2 separate regions of the Homo sapiens genome follow, and region 1 is linked to region 2. The links are contacts of gene promoters, found by promoter capture Hi-C in blood cells and fetal thymus (Javierre and others, 2016). All regions are on one chromosome and are shown on one strand. The core of a region is centred on a gene start or on the middle of the fragment in contact, and the rest is flanking DNA. Distances in the headings are between cores, read along the strand shown. Region 1 holds the start of ENKUR (enkurin, TRPC channel interacting protein). Region 2 holds the start of IDI1 (isopentenyl-diphosphate delta isomerase 1).

The links. The method cuts DNA at HindIII sites, captures the fragments that hold promoters and counts their contacts. A CHiCAGO score of 5 or more calls a contact.
Region 1: the fragment with the promoter of ENKUR here is called in contact with the fragment with the promoter of IDI1 in region 2 in 1 of 17 cell types (fetal thymus); the score reaches 13.3 in fetal thymus.

The regions. Positions count from the first base shown.
Region 1 is chr10:25,014,105-25,017,623 of GRCh38, forward strand. It overlaps ENKUR (enkurin, TRPC channel interacting protein), which reads right to left and starts at 2,054. Exons shown (of 6, transcript NM_145010.4): 1 at 1,756-2,054. The coding sequence starts at 1,832. THNSL1 (threonine synthase like 1) reads left to right here and starts at 2,508. Exons shown (of 3, transcript NM_024838.5): 1 at 2,508-2,588. RefSeq lists silencers at 2,060-2,109, 2,440-2,639, 2,820-2,899 and enhancers at 2,183-2,945, 2,256-2,550, 3,150-3,229. The HindIII fragment of the contact is 2,880 bases long and covers 445-3,324 here.
Region 2 is chr10:1,047,626-1,051,231 of GRCh38, forward strand. IDI1 (isopentenyl-diphosphate delta isomerase 1) reads right to left here and starts at 1,494. Exons shown (of 5, transcript NM_004508.4): 1 at 1,239-1,494. The coding sequence starts at 1,378. RefSeq lists enhancers at 741-1,271, 1,272-1,801, 1,493-1,542, 1,802-2,331, 2,003-2,142 and silencers at 1,083-1,172, 1,183-1,402. The HindIII fragment of the contact is 1,083 bases long and covers 1,427-2,509 here.

The sequences.
Region 1 (3,519 bases), core at 804-3,303, about 24 Mb after region 2:
AAAGTGCCTTTCATCCGATTTTGGTCACATACATTCATCTTCTAAGTTCTCATTTAGTATCTTCATCTCTCATTATGGTTTTCAATGATAAATTTTAGTGTTCATATTTCAGTTCCCCAAAAAGACGGTAAACTCTGAGGCGTGGGAGATCAAAAGCCAGGCAGTTGTCAGAATCTTGCCAGTGTAAATTGACTTTAACCTAACAGAAATGATTCTTTTGGCATCACATTTGGGTGCCTCTATTTCCTCTAATCATAAATCTTTCTTCTACTCATTTCTTCATAGTAAAACCAAGAAGTCTGTGCTATCACTCCAACAGCACCAAGAACAGATATACTAGTGCAATATTATACACATAATAGGGGCTCCATTAATGCTTGCCAAATGAATAAAGACTGTTCCTATAAATTTTTTTTGAAAAAAAAAATCGTCTAGATGCAGTAAAGCTTTTTAATTTGCCAAAGAACAGAATACCTACCTAATAAAATAACTCTCAAATTCAATATTCTATAGAAATACAATCTACCAATCTGTTATAGAGGAGTTTTATCTCATGTAATATGCAGGAATTTGAAACCAAAAGTTGGTGCAACAATAGAAAATTTGAAAATAAATTCTGCAACTGTGCCATAACTTACTTTACATTCCTCTTTCCAGTCTCTAGATGTTGATATGCTAATGGAGATGTAATACAGTTACTGCTCTAATTTAAACCAGATACTTAAAATTGAAGAAGCTGCCTACTTGTTGAAGCTATTACCCTAATACTAGTAAAAATAATTGACCATTAGATCTAAAAGGGGCCTTGGATATTATCTGGTACATTTATCTCACAGATCAGTAAACAAATGAAACTTTATTCTAAAGTTCACAAAGACAATTAATTGCTAGGCCCGATTTTTAGTCCAGTCCTTTTCAAATGTGGTTTTGACTTGCATACGGACAAGGATGATGGTAAAAGACAGGAAACATTTCAAGTCCTAGGAGAAATGAGATTTTCTCCACTACTTTCTTTGCTCCCCACAGATTTAAGTAAGTTCTAAGAAGTCCCTACAGATGGGAGTAACTGAAGTGCTTCCTTTGCACGTTTTTGAGATTTGGAGAATTTAAGAGGTTCTAAGACCTATGTAAAATTTCAACTCAATTACATATTTTTTGGTTCATTATCTATCCACCAATTCTTCCTTCCATTTAAACCATTAGATCTGAAAAAGTCCTTAGAAACTGCCTAATAGTGGTAGATATTTCGTTTCACTGATCAAAAACCTGAGGCTCAAAAGCAAATGTAAATTTATATTTCATAAAAATCTTGGGGGAAAAGTCCTATCCTATCCCATTAGAGAGGGAGTAGTGCAGTTAGAAATACAACACCGAACTCCTGAAACCAAACATCAAGTATCCTTAAACAAGATAATAGAATTGTGATTTTTTTCTTTTCAACATGAAACTTCATACTATGCTGTATATCACATATAATTAAATTACACAATAATCACATACCGTATTAATAAGAGGTTAAGTGTAATATAATAAAATGGTCATCTCACAGCGCCAGACTGCCCTCTCTGTAAAACTGTGAGATGCTGAATACCTAGATATTTCGACCTTTTCTCTAACAAGTTATCCTCCAAGGCTACTTCATCGAGGCAAAAATACATTTTATTTATTATTAAAAATTCCAGTATATGTATGCTTAATTAATACTGAGTATTCCCCATTCTTGTTTCAAGTGATAGTCTTTGCTTATCCACATACCTAGGAGGCTGGGGAGGCTCCTTCAAGTCACTGGGTATGAGGTTATAAATGCACTCAGAAGAGCACGTTGGATCCATGGCCACCAAATGACTCCTTAAAAGCTACTCTCCACAACTTTTTTCTCCCTGTCCCAGTATCTCCGTCCCTTTCTTCACTGCTTCCCCTTTCTTTCTTCTTCGCCTTCTGAAGGACCACAGGTTCTCTCCTTCACATCGTCCCCCTTTAACCCCCTCTTAGCAGTCCTCTCTCGGGAAGAAAACACCCTATTTCTCTCCGGATTGCTAAGCGTCGTTGACTGTGCGGTTGCCGTGGAAACCGTTACTAGGCAACGAGGAAGTGGCAGGCAGCACCGCAAACTAGGTCTCCCCTCTTCCCTCTTTCTGCAGCGCCTTCTGCTAGAGAAGCTCATTTGGAAGCCACTGTTTTTACGTGCCTTTGAAAGTTAACGGGGTGAAAATGATGTCCCCTTAAAAACTGTGCTCTTTTCTATTTCTGTGTATCTGGGGAAAAAAGAAAAATCCTAGTAGAGACGGCAAAGCGCAGCTGGTGCGCAGGCGTCACCCAATAAGGTTTTTGTGAGCAGGCCCCAATCGCGGTGTGGGCGGAGCGAGCGGCTGAGACCACGAGGACGCAAGGCCAGCGCCGCCAGGGAGACGAGGGAGGGGAGGAGCCTGAGGAGATCGGAGTGCTCGGATAGGCTACAGTGAGAAAGGAGAGTCACGTGCCCTGCGCGAGGCCGCTCGGGGAAGGGCGTGGAGCGGAGGCACGCTGGCCGCCGCAGGCACAGGCGCAGAGTCCACTGCGCGGGGGCGGGACCGGGGAGCTAGCTGCAGGTACGGTGCTCCGTCTCCTGTGGAGGCTTTAGCGGCTCGTGGACACTGCTCCCCCATTTCCTTTCATTTCCCCCGTCTTCTCAGTGAGATTTCCTTGGTGAGTTATTGGAGGAGAAAGGAAGGAAAACTAGAAGCCAGCCCGCTCCCATCGCATGCCTTTCCCCGTACCGTCCCTTCCCCTTTCCGCTACTCGCTGGTCATCTCAACTCTGCGCGCATTTTTCCTGCTGCTTCTGGTCGAGGCTCCTCGGAACGCCGCGCAGCCCTGCCCGCCACGTGTGTGAGTGCGCGCACGGGGCCCGCGGCCTCCTCCGCCTGCTGCGCTCGCCCTCCCGCCCCTGCTCCCGGGACCGCCCCTTGGGCGGTCCTCCGGGTCGGCTCTGCGCCTGCTCTTCCCCGGGTCGGGACTCTTCCTCTAGGTCGTTCTCCAGGAACCAGTGGACCTGCTCTTTGTAAATGAGCAGCCTAAACTAAGAGGAGAAGCCTTTTAAGTGGGCCTTTACGTTTTTGTCCAGTTTTTGGTGTCCCTTGTTGGAAAATTGTCTTCTGAGAAGCGGTTTTATTCCTTTTTGTTCCACCTGGTCACCCGTAAATCTATGCACATGGGCCTGCCGTAGGAAAGTCATTTAGACGCTTTTACCCGAGTGTTTAAAAGACATTTTGGTAATAGGATTTGGGGAGGAAGATGGATGCCTCTGAACCACCGGTACAGAGGCCACTCTGCCCGAAGGAAATAAAGCTTCCCGGAGAGGAGAGAAAACACACTTGAGTCTGGGTTTCTCACTGCCTGGTTGGCTGGCGGAGTGATTAAAACAACACAATGGCCTGGTGAACCTTTTAGTTCCTGTATAAAAAGGCTTTACTGAATGTGTAGGTCCTTACTTTGGGCTCTTACTGAATTTCACTACATAAGAATACGTTAAGTTTTTCTT
Region 2 (3,606 bases), core at 244-2,743:
TCCACCGTCTGTCTACACCACACAGCCCAGCTGCTCCACTGTCTAGGTCTGCGTCAGCGCACTCTGCTTCCACAATGATGAAAGTACCTAACAATGAACTTCTCCAAAGTATCCCTGTTAAGTGATGCGGGCCGAACGTTAAATTATCATCTGTAGATGATCTCTTATAGTATCTAAAACATGTAAATCCTACATAAATAGTTGTGCTGTATTGTTTACAGAATAAGTCTGTATATGTTCAGTACAGATGAAATTTTTTTCCAAATATTTTATAATGTGCAGTTGGTTAAATCCATGGATATGGACCCCAAGGATACAGTAGGCCAACTGTATATTAGGTGATCACTAAGATAGGTTTCGTTACTACATAATTACTAGACTTTTTGACATGACTTTTTTTCCGGGGGGATGGGGCTGGGTCTTGCTATGTCTGTCGCCCAAGCTGGAGTGCAGTGGCGCGATCTCGGCTCACTGCAGCCTTCGACTCCGCCTCCCAAAGTGCTGGGATTAAAGGCGTGCACCACCGCCCAGCTGTAATGACAATTGCTCTTTCAGGATTTTCAGAATTCAGATTTTAAAGCTAAGCTGCATAATCACAAGATAAAATGAATACGTCTATTTATGCGTTTAAAGAATACCATGTAGTAGACGCGGGAACACATCATCCAACCCAAGAAAAAGGTCTAGTTCCATCTATGCGATGCTCCCCATCTCTTCTCCTGCTCCATTCCCAGGAGAAGCGCCTTGAGTGTGTTGCTGTCACCCTCTTGCACGGACGCAGGTGTATGCACCCGCGTCACACGCGTGGACTCGGCACGGGGAGGCCGGTGTCGTCACGCTCGTGTTTCTGACGATGCTGTCTACGCTTGTTTCTGAATTCTCTAAGGGGAGACTCGCAACTCTTAGTCTCCTGCGACTCGGTTTCCAGTTCCACGAGTTCCTAAACCTCAGGTGACTGTGCGCAGACGACGATCTTTTCCGCTGACAAAGAATGGCAACGTCTCTGACGCCCCGACTCACGCCTCCGCCTTCCACGGGGCGCGGGCGCCCACCACAGCCCGGGAAGGCCCGGCCTCCCTCCAGTTCGGGAGACCAACGCCGCCACCCCCAGCTGTCCAGGCCTCCGCGCCGAGACCTCACGGGTGGCTCAGACCTCGGGCCTCCTCCCCGCCCCGTCCCGCAGCTCCCCGATGCCGCCCTGCCCCTGTCTCCCGAACTCCGCCGCCCGTCCACAGTACCTGATCAGCCTCCGGCCACAGACAACCGCCGGTCCCGGATGGCGCCCGCTTTGAGCACAGTCTGCGGCGCGCACCGCCCACTGGCCCCGCCCCCGGGCCGCGCAGCCAATCGCTCGCGCCAGCGCCAGTCCACGCCACATCGCCCGGCCAATTGGCGCCCGTACGCGCTTGACGACACAATCTCGCCAAGCTTCGCCTGGTGGTGCCACCTCCCTGGCCTGTGACAACGGCAGACGCGCGAAGCACCGGGAACCTGAGCCGTGACCGCGGGCTCTGGCGCCTTTAAGGGGGTCAACACGCCCCACCCCCAGTTCCGCAGAGGCAGCGTCCCGCGACTGGGCGGTGCCCGAGACCACAGACGCCGCCAGCCAATCACGCTTTCGATCCTGCCGTGCGAGCCCGAGGCGCTGCGAACGGTGCCTAACGTCAGACGTCTCGAGGCTCGCGTTCCATGGAGGAAGCCCTCCCAATCCGAAAGCGCCCGGGCGCCAAGCCCTGCAGCCGGAAGCTCGGCGTCCCATGGGAGCGACCTCCGCATGGCTGGACCAATGGAAACGGAGGAAAGGCGGGACGTCACTGCTGACTGGCTGGTTGGGCACTCCCCCCCCTCCCCCCCCCCGAGTTCCGCCGCTGGGACTACAGCGTTTGGCTGCACGGGGAGTTCTCGTATGTCTAGAACGATGGCCTTTCTGCGGTGTCTGCGACCGGGACCAAGGCGGAGCAAAGTCGCCGGGGGTGTGGGGTGTTCCACGCTATGTTGGGAGTGTTCGCTTTCGAGGTACATGACTACGTTCTAAATTTTTTTTTTTTGAGACAGTTTCATTCTTGTTGCCCAGGCTTGAGTGCAATGGTGCAGTCTCCGCTCACAGCAACCTCCGCCGCCCGGGTTCAGGCAATTGTCCCGTCTCAGCCTCCCAAGTAGCTGGAATTACAGGCATGCGCCACCACGCCCGGCTTATTTCGTATTTTTAGTAGAGACGGGTTTCCGCATGTTGGTCAGGCTGGTCTGGAACTCCTGACCTCAAGTGATCCACCTGGCTCAGCTTACCGAAGTGCTGAGATTCCGGGTGTGAGCCACCGCGCCTAGCCCTCTAAACTTTTAAATAATCGTGAAATGTATGCGCAGCTGAAGCGAATTCAGCTATTTCCTCTACCTTTTGTGTGGAATTTAAAATACTGAACTTGTGAGATGAACCTGGTGGGCACCAGTTCTCAAACTTCTTGGTCACAGGACGCTTGCACTCTCTTAAAATGTACTGAGGACACCTAAAAGCTTTTGCTCACTGTTGTTTACTACTGCTATTTACTAACATAGAAATTAAACATATTAAAATATTCACTTAAAAAACACACGACACTAACATAAGTTATATTTTTATTAAAAATCTTTTCCAGACAAAAAACAGACTTTGATTTTGTTTTATGTGTTGACAGATCTCTTTCATGTCTGGCTTCACACAGATAAGAAAATCTGGCCTCCCGCATGCGCAGCAAGTCCTCACTGCTGTCAGTGCGTTCTTGGGAATCAGGACTTTTAAGTGAAACAACGTATAGCAAAACCAATTTTACCAGAGGCTAAAAAATAAGGATTAAGTTCCTAAAGCATACTTCTGGCCAAGGAAAAAAAAAATCACTAAGCTTCTAAAGGCCAAAGTATTCTAATATTAAACATTGAAATAAATGTGAGCTATACATACATTTAAGAAAGATGAATAAAAAGATAATTATTACTTAATTATTCCAGTTCTGGGTCATGTGTAGCTGAAGCCTGTTTCAGTAGCTCAGGGCACAAAGAGGGAACCAGCCCTGGACAGGACGCCATTCCATCACAGGGCCACTCACACACCCACACTCAGACTGGGACAGTGAAGACACACCAGTTCACCTCACGTGCACACCTCTGGGATGTGGCAAGAACTGCAGCACCCAGAGAAAACCTATGCAGGTGTGGCGAGAACACGTAAACACCACAAAGACAGTGCCCCTGGCTGGGAGTCTTTTTCTCATCAATGTTACAAAGAAATGAATGAGCACCTGCTGTATGCAGTTTGAAAATTGAGAAGTATTTTTTAATAGCCTTTTCAAATTATCTTGGTTATTCTTTTTCGATACTACTACCCCAAAACACGAGTGGTGGATTTTCCAATTACTATTTGGAATTTGAAACCACTTCAATGGACATTTTGTACTTGTTACATTAAAACTCATTATTTTTGACTGTACCTCGAATGCCTATTTTCCTGTGCGTGATGTTGAAATGTCATGCATTGGTCATTTGGAAAATACTGATTTACTGAATTAAACAGATCTTCCAAATGCTAAAACATTTCATTATTCAATATCAATCACATTGTTAATATCACTAGTA